3 separate regions of the Homo sapiens genome follow, and all the other regions are linked to region 2. Evidence: promoter capture Hi-C in 16 types of primary human blood cells and fetal thymus (Javierre and others, 2016). All regions are on one chromosome and are shown on one strand. The core of a region is centred on a gene start or on the middle of the fragment in contact, and the rest is flanking DNA. Distances in the headings are between cores, read along the strand shown.

Region 1 (2,967 bases), core at 26-2,525, 450 kb after region 2:
CAGGTAGAAAACATTTCAAAACGTATAGCTAATAAAGAACATGGTATGAAACATATAAAGAACTCAATAATATATAAAGAACTCTTAGATAAAAAGTCAAGCTAGCTAATAAATAAATGGTCAAAAGATTTGAATACACACTTCACAAAGAAGAGATCCTCCTGCCTTGGGCTAAAAAAGGGCTGGGGTTACAGGCAGGAGCCCAGGCCCAGCCTTGTCAGTTGATTTTCGGTGACCCTTCAGAGGGCAAAGGGGAAGTTTTCTCCTGTTCCCTACAACCGACAGGCCCATCAATTGGTGAATGGATAAATAAACTGTGGCTTACCCATATGATAGACTACCATTCAACAATAACACAAATGAATTACTAATTAAACACAATAGTATGAATCTCAAAGCATTGTGCTAAGTTAAAAAAGCCAGACATCACTTAGATATGGTTCCGTTTGTATGCATTCTAAAAAAGGCCTAAAGCACATCACTGTTGCCAGGCACCCGGGAATACGGGAATACGTAGCGGAGCGGGCACGAGGGGGGTGGGGGTGGGGGTAGGGGTGGGGGGGAGGGTAGCTGCCTGCATAGCTCTGCCCAGTTTTATGCCGGTTTCAGCCCGGCGCACAACGCATTTTTTTTTTTGATACATAGTCTCGCTCTGTCGCCCAGGCTGGAGTGCAGTGGCGCAATCTCGGCTCACTGCAAACTCCGCCTCCCGGGTTCCCGCCATTCTCCCACCTCAGCCTCCCGAGTAGCTGGGACTACAGGCGCCCGCCACCACGCCCAGCTAATTTTGTTTTTGTATTTTTAGTAGAGACGGGGTTTCACCGTGTTAGCCAGAATGGTCTCGATCTCCTGACGTCGTGATCCGCCCGCCTCGGCCCCCCAAAGTGCTGGGATTACAGGCGTGAATCACCGCGCCCGGCCGCGGCGCACAACGCTTAACAAACTTTGGCTTCCGTTATCCCTCCCTCTGGAAATGCGTGTGTCAGGGTGCCTCCTAGTGGAACTGCAGCGTTTCCTCGAAAGCCATTCCGTCCAGGAGTTAAGGTGGCCGCTGCCCGCCCGGGGACACTTTCTCAGTCCAGCCCATCGGCCTTTACCCCAGCCAACGACCTGTTGCCTTTGGCCGCCTGCCAAGTCACTCTCATTACAGTTTCCTTTTCCTTTTCGATTCCGCCCCCTAAAAACAACAACAAACATTATGTTTCGTTTTCCACTGGAGCTGCAGGCCCCGCCCCCAAACAGCACGTGGGGGGCGTGGCGTCCCGGCAGGGGCTCAGTAGCTGAGGCTGCGGTTCCCCGACGCCACGCAGCTGCGCGCAGCTGGTTCCCGCTCTGCAGCGCAACGCCTGAGGCAGTGGGCGCGCTCAGTCCCGGGACCAGGCGTTCTCTCCTCTCGCCTCTGGGCCTGGGACCCCGCAAAGCGGCGATGGAGCGGAGGTCGCGGAGGAAGTCGCGGCGCAACGGGCGCTCGACCGCGGGCAAGGCCGCCGCGACCCAGCCCGCGAAGTCTCCGGGCGCACAGCTCTGGCTCTTTCCCAGCGCCGCGGGCCTCCACCGCGCGCTGCTCCGGAGGGTGGAGGTGACGCGCCAACTCTGCTGCTCGCCGGGGCGCCTCGCGGTCTTGGAACGCGGCGGGGCGGGCGTCCAGGTTCACCAGCTGCTCGCCGGGAGCGGCGGCGCCCGGACGCCGAGTGAGTGGGGCTGGTGTGTGAGGGCTGTGAGGGCTGTGAGGGGTGAGGGCTGAGGGCTGTGAGGGGCGGGCAGCCGGGGGTCCGCGCCTGAGGGAGGAGAGCCCAGAAGGCCGCAGACGCGCGCCTGGCTCGGATAGTTTCGCCGACGGCGCACCTGAGCTGTCTTTTATCCCGGTCAGTGTCAGGCGCGGGGTGAGCGGGATACTGGCGACCAGCGGATCCTCCGCTCAGCAAAGTGGCCGGTGCGGGGCATGCGGGCACCGTCTTCATCCTTTTAGCCAGTCTGGCTTTCTCATAGGTTTCTGTTCAAGTTTGTACCCCCGTCCCCCGCCCGCCGCATCTCCCACTGTCTCGTTTTGAGAAAGTAGTCACTGCTCCAACTTTGGGAGTCGTTCTCAGTGATGGGATTTTACCTTGGCCTTCAGTTGCACTTCTCCCACATTCTCATCGAAGTGGGGGAAATAGTTGCCCGCGTTCTTTAAAATTTTGCCCATCTGTGGAGTGAAGAAATTGGTATCTTGCTGCGAGTTTATTTTGCGTTTAACTACTGGACGTTTGCGTTCCTTTTTCGGTAAATTGCCTGTTTATCTTTGCCTGGCTTTTAGAAATTTGAGTTGTTAAATCTTTTTCTTATTTGTATGGAAGAGGTATTTGAATATTGAATAAGAATAGCCTTTTGCACGTCGTACATGTAATATTTTTCTCACTTTGCCTTTTGTGCATGTTGTTTTTAGTGCATTTTTTGGGGGGTAGTCTGTCAATTTTTTTGTCTGTTAAGGCTTATGGGTTTTATGTTAGGCTGGAAAGCTATCCACACTCCCAGTGTTTTAAAAAATGTACTCATTTTTGTAGTAATTTTAAGGTTTTTTTTTTTAAGTTAAAATTTTTCGTACGCTTGGAATTTTCAGTACTGAGGTAGGAGGGGAGCTAGATTTATTTGCTTTTCCAAAGGCTTAGCCTATGTCCCAATACCATTTCTTAATACTTCCTTTTTTTCAACTGATTTGAAATGCTGAGACTCTTTAAAAGAAACCGTTAGTCTGCTGGACCATTTCTTATTACCAAACTGTTTTGGTTCCCCTAGCATTTGTAATATGGTTTGTGCTTTGAGATTTTTACACGAATAGATTCTATTTCATTAGCACTGAAGATGAAACAAGGTCCCAAAACTATCCTAGTTTAATTTTTGTGAACAAATTAAATAAGAGTACATTTTTACTAGTGGACAGTTTAATCTCTTAACTTCAGAAAGGGCCAAATGTGCACTAATGCCAAT
Region 2 (3,022 bases), core at 69-2,568:
AGGCACACACCGCAAAGCCTGGCTAATTTTTGTATTTTTTGTAGAGACAAGGTGAGCAAATAAATTTCTGTTAAGCCACCCAGTCTCTGGTACTTTGTTATGGCAGCCCTAACAAACAAATACAGGAGCAGATTATGAGAATTTACTAAACCAAACCACAGAAATTAAATTTTATCCTTTCAGCTGCCAGAAGCCCACAGAGGTGTCTAAGCATCAACGTGACAAATAAGCAGCTTTGGTTCTGCAATATAACCTGGAAATAGTGAGGACACCGACGTGGAGAATAGAGATGGGAGTTGACAGGGATCAATTGTTCTAATGCGGAATAATGCAAGACATAAGATCAAGCCAGCAGGAGTGAGAAACAGAGATCATATCAGGGTGATATCTGTGGGGCAAAAGTAACAAGAAGATAAGGTGTAGGCGGTGGAGGGTAAACCGCGAGGCTTCCATGAAGAAGAGTGGCCTGGGAAGTGAGGAGGACAGCGAAGCCCCAAACCTCACCTTGGGATACGGGAAGTGAAGCAGGTTCCAGAGAAGGGGACAAGATAATGACTTAGGGTAGGATAAATTTCAGACAATTGCAGAGCATCACATTAGATGTGTTCAGAAGAGTGGAAATAAAGTTCTGTGCCTAGGCCCTCATGCAGGATTCTGTTGCTAGAAGTCAGTGCTGGCCGCAGGGAGACCGGAGATCACAGTGGAGGCACCAGCGATCCGAGAGTCCTATGACGAATCCCTGGGATCCCCACAATGTGTGGAGACAGAAGCCAACCAAAGAGCGAGAAAGCATCTCCAAACCAGCAGAATCAGGGGCAGGAGGCCCGCCAAATGCACAGCAAGTCAGCCTTGGTAGTTTGCAAATGGAAAGATTTCTTTGACCCGCTGGAGACTTCAGCTCAGGCTGGATGTCGCTAATTCACACCATCTCACCAAAAGGTTCTTTCCCTGCCCTTTGGTGAATCGAGGCAGAAGTGGCTGGTGGATAACTGGGACCCAAGAGTTATCTCAGCGTCGGGCAGGCATCGACAGCTCCAGGAGCCCTTTCCCTGCAGGCGGGCTGGCGGGTGAGCGATTCCCTCCCTTCCCAGGCCTTCCCGGGAATGGAACGTGGGCGCCCGCGCCCGGGCTCCGGTTCCACTTGGAACGCGGACTCGGGAGCCGCCGGGCGAGCGCGCAGACCGCGGGGGCGGCTCCCTCGCACCTCCCCGCTCAGCGCGCCGCGGCGGATGGGCGAGGCGGGGCGAGGCCAGAGGGAGGCGGGCCAAAGGGGCGGGCGAGAGGACGCGGGACCGCGGGGAGGTCGGGGGCGGGGAGCAGGCGGCGGCGGGCGCCGGGAAGAAAGGAACATGGCTCCTGAGGCGCACAGCGCCGAGCGCGGCGCCGCGCACCCGCGCGCCGGACGCCAGTGACCGCGATGGTGAACTCCAGTCGCGTGCAGCCTCAGCAGCCCGGGGACGCCAAGCGGCCGCCCGCGCCCCGCGCGCCGGACCCGGGCCGGCTGATGGCTGGCTGCGCGGCCGTGGGCGCCAGCCTCGCCGCCCCGGGCGGCCTCTGCGAGCAGCGGGGCCTGGAGATCGAGATGCAGCGCATCCGGCAGGCGGCCGCGCGGGACCCCCCGGCCGGAGCCGCGGCCTCCCCTTCTCCTCCGCTCTCGTCGTGCTCCCGGCAGGCGTGGAGCCGCGATAACCCCGGCTTCGAGGCCGAGGAGGAGGAGGAGGAGGTGGAAGGGGAAGAAGGCGGAATGGTGGTGGAGATGGACGTAGAGTGGCGCCCGGGCAGCCGGAGGTCGGCCGCCTCCTCGGCCGTGAGCTCCGTGGGCGCGCGGAGCCGGGGGCTTGGGGGCTACCACGGCGCGGGCCACCCGAGCGGGAGGCGGCGCCGGCGAGAGGACCAGGGCCCGCCGTGCCCCAGCCCAGTCGGCGGCGGGGACCCGCTGCATCGCCACCTCCCCCTGGAAGGGCAGCCGCCCCGAGTGGCCTGGGCGGAGAGGCTGGTTCGCGGGCTGCGAGGTAAGAGCGCGCGACCCGCAGCGGCAGATGCACGAACCAGAACGGCCGGCGCCGGCCGGGGCCATCGCCCGCTGCGGCAGCTCCCCGGGCTCCATCTCGCATCCCCTCTGCGTTCCGCCTCCCTTGGAAGCGCATTCCCCACCTCCGCTAGTGCTGCCCTATTTCCGGTACCCAGCGCGGAATTCCACTGCTCTTTTGTTGGTGCATATTTATTGGATACCTCCTTCTTCAGGATATGTCACCATAGTCTTTTTTACTGAAAATTAGTGAAAGCCTAATTAGAGTGAAAGAGTACATCTGGGTTTTGTTTTTTTTTTTCTTGTAGAGGAAAAAATGAACATTACTTGTGTAACTGATGGTAGTTGCAACTGCATATTTGCCAATGTCACAAAATCTAAAGGAAAATGTTATAGTCACCCGTGGTTTCCTTCTTGCCTGGACACTCCATTGTCCCGGGCTGAAAAGGGTAGCAGTACAGTGCATATAATGTCAAGTTGTGGGAGGAGTGTGGCAGATTGTCATTGGTGCATTTTTTTGGTGATGTGTGTGGTTGTTTTGAGGAGTGGGAGCTGTTAAGAACACCACAAATAGAATAAAATAATATCGTGAAGTTATTTGGCCGTTTCTAATTCTAGACATTTTTCTAAAAACAGTTGCAAAGGAAAGATTACATTGTTTTAAAAAAATTTGAAGTATGTTTTTAAATAACTAAATTAATGTTCTTTGAAATTCCACCAAAATGATGAAGTCACCAGATAGCAGCTGATAAATGTGTCTGAGCCCAGTGCGCCCAGCTCTACAAAAGGCAGAAGAGGAATTTTCAAATTTGCCAGTGCCCAGTAAGAGGACATGAATTTTCTAGTACCAGAGGAAATTCTCTTTTTACAAATTTTGTCAGAGGTATCCTTGGGAAAGTATTTCATTTGCTTTTACCCTCCAAATTATTTTAATCTATATTTTTAAGAGTTTCCATTCTCAGTTGAGTTTTTCTTGTTCTTCTCCTTCTGTCA
Region 3 (2,700 bases), core at 102-2,601, 500 kb after region 2:
ATGGATGTGTAATAATCTGCAGAAAAGCTGCTGAACTCTTGTCTGTTCCTTCACATCTGTAGAGGAGTTTGATATAATCACTTCTCTTTCTCGATTTTAAGCTTCATACAGGCAAAGAGATCACAAAATGTAGGGTAGCCATCATGGTCTTGGGGGAAGTTATGTTCCTCCTGTAGGGGTGGATTAAGTAATACTTCCTGGCCCTTCTTCCGAAGTAGCCACTTGTCTTCTCCAGAGGATCACTGGCTGAGGGTGCCCATCTTCTTTCCTGGCAGGATCCAGTCAGCTGTATTAAAGGGACACCAGGAAGTGATTGTGGGGCTTTTAAGCTTTTGTTGGCCAGCCCTGTCCTCAGTACTAGGCACTTCCTTGGGAATTCCTTCCTTATATGGGGGCTGGATTAGCCACTCTGACAAGGGACTGTTGTTTATGACTTGAATCAGCAATTCTAGAAGGAGCCGTTGCCTTTGATGCCTTAGCTTGTTCTTTTCTTGAAGGACAGGACCACATATTCAGGGAATCTTGATGCTTCTCAGGCTCAGGTTTGGTTTCCTCAGGCATCCCATTATTTTGTCTATCTTTCTTTAGAAGCCACTTACACAGAGCTTCCTTCTCAATTCTCATCATACACTCTGCAAAACTTCTGCAGGGCTCATTGGCTGTGCATATGTCCTCTACTTTATATGGGTCCTGATGGTTCTGGACAAGTCAATCCTCAGAAACGATGCTGAGGGTAGAAAATAGTTTCTTGGCTTCCAAGTAGTCATTCAGGCACTTCACATTGCCCAGGTTTTTCAAAATCTCTACACTATTGGGCTGGTTGACCCAACAGTTGATATAGGAGTTGGTTTTGACAAGCCAATCATTCACATTGTAGGAATGGAACAAGAATTTAAACTTCTCACTGGTTTCATAACTGCCATTCTCAGGCTTCTCCAACTTACAGGATTCCTGGGGAATCACCAGCCACTAGATAGATCATCTCACCTTGATCAGAAAGCTCTAGATCTTCCACCTTTTCAATTAAATGGAGAAAGAACTGGTAGTAAAATGGCTGTCACTTTGGATAACTTGGTTTTTCTGGAACTTCTTGTTGCTGACTCTTGAGGAGCAAGTTTTCAAAGCCCTTTAGGTTGCCTGAGACATTACTGAAGAAACTGCAGGCTCTGGAAGAAGTCTATTCTCCAACGTCTGCTTTTGGGTGAGCCAGTCGTGGGGGGTTGTTCCTGAAGACCACTGGTATGGTTGCTTCCAAGGAGCCATTCCCTGAGAGGGACATCTGTGATGCTGGATGCTGACTTCTGCTCTGGCATTAGGATATAGCCTCTCTTCTCCAGGAAGGGCCTGATACTTGATAAGCTAGCATGAGGCATGAAGTGTTTAGGAATTTGAATGGTCTTGAGAAACCCAAATGTGGTGATAGTCATGCAGAGCAGTTGTGTCTGCTTCAAACAGCAGGACAGTTGAATCTTCAAACTTAAGGGTCAAACTGCCCAGTCTCTCCAGGCACACAGAGACTTGGCTAGATCTTTGTTTTGGGTGCACTTCCGTTAATGAATAAGACCATTGAACTGGCCCAATAACCAGTAGAGCTGCTGGGCCTGTGGCTGAAGTGTCTCCTCTTTAAGCTGATAGATGAGGTCTACCTGTTCATACAGCCACCTCACAGTTCGTAAGGCATTCTAGGTGACAGCTTATACAACTCTGAATCTGAGTTTTGACTTCTCACAAGTTATCTTTAATTTGCTGTTTGGCCCAGGGAACTCCACCAATAGCAAGCTCCAAGTCCTTCCATGCATTACTACATCTCAAAAGGGGTTCTCTATTACTGGAGTAGCCACTCTGGTCATGTGAGGTATTCATTCTGCTCACTGCTCCAGCTCCCAATCCCTCTCCGGGTGATCCAGGGGACTTTGGGTGGACAGAGACACAGCCCCACACAAAACTCCTGAGGAGTCTTTTTAAAGGGAATCTTTTCAACTGACTGGAACCTTTTTGCTTCCTCCTTTATTCTTTACATAGAACTGTATTACCTACTATTGCTCTGACTCCAAGTAAGGAGTCTTGCAACAATCAGCCACATGAGGAACACAATTCTCCTACTCTGAAGACACAGCAACAAGGGTGCCAGCTTGAACCAGAGAATAAATCTGCTGATGTCTTGATCTTGGCTTCCCAGCCACCAGACTGTGAGATAAATTCCTGTTCTTTAAATTACACAGTCTCAGGTATTCTGTTATAGCGGCACAAAATGGACAAAGACAGACTTGTATCCTACCCACAATATGTAAAGAACTCTCAAAATTCAATAATGAAGACACAATTTTAAAATGGGCAAAGATTTGAACAGACACAAGATATATCAATGGCAAATAAGCTTAACAACGTGTCATTATAGAACTGCAAATTAAAACCCAAGTAAGGTACCACATCACCCCTATTACCATGGCTAAAATTAAATAGACGTACCAAGTGTTGATAAGAATGTGGAAGAACTAGAACTCTTATATACAGTTGGTGGGAATTTAAATGGTTTGACCACTTTGGAAAACTGTTAGGCAGTTTCTTAAAAAGAAGTATCTACCATATGATCCTGCTATTCTACTCTTAGGAATTTACCCAAGAGAAATAAAAGCGTATGTCCATGCAAGGATTACATACAAATGTTCATAGCAGCTTTATTTATAATAGCCAGAAGTG

Evidence for each region. Contacts are between HindIII fragments. The CHiCAGO score rates a contact against its expected background, and 5 or more counts as called.
Region 1: the fragment with the promoter of HERC5 here is called in contact with the fragment with the promoter of PKD2 in region 2 in 4 of 17 cell types (monocytes, fetal thymus, erythroblasts and 1 more); the score reaches 7.6 in monocytes.
Region 3: a contact is called between a fragment that was not itself captured here and the fragment with the promoter of PKD2 in region 2, in 9 of 17 cell types (naive B cells, monocytes, fetal thymus and 6 more). The highest score is 8.6, in naive B cells.

The regions. Positions count from the first base shown.
Region 1 is chr4:88,455,844-88,458,810 of GRCh38, forward strand. It overlaps HERC5 (HECT and RLD domain containing E3 ubiquitin protein ligase 5), which reads left to right and starts at 1,276. Exons shown (of 23, transcript NM_016323.4): 1 at 1,276-1,691. The coding sequence starts at 1,427. The region is part of intron 1 of LOC102723458 (a long non-coding RNA gene); the gene reads right to left. RefSeq lists an enhancer at 906-1,335. The HindIII fragment of the contact is 3,677 bases long and covers 1-2,967 here.
Region 2 is chr4:88,006,317-88,009,338 of GRCh38, forward strand. It overlaps PKD2 (polycystin 2, transient receptor potential cation channel), which reads left to right and starts at 1,319. Exons shown (of 15, transcript NM_000297.4): 1 at 1,319-2,012. The coding sequence starts at 1,418. RefSeq lists silencers at 1,082-2,011, 2,062-2,201. The HindIII fragment of the contact is 13,052 bases long and covers 1-3,022 here.
Region 3 is chr4:88,508,541-88,511,240 of GRCh38, forward strand. It overlaps the pseudogene NCOA4P2. Among named protein-coding and RNA genes, the nearest start is that of PIGY, 14 kb to the right of the region's middle. The HindIII fragment of the contact is 2,048 bases long and covers 328-2,375 here.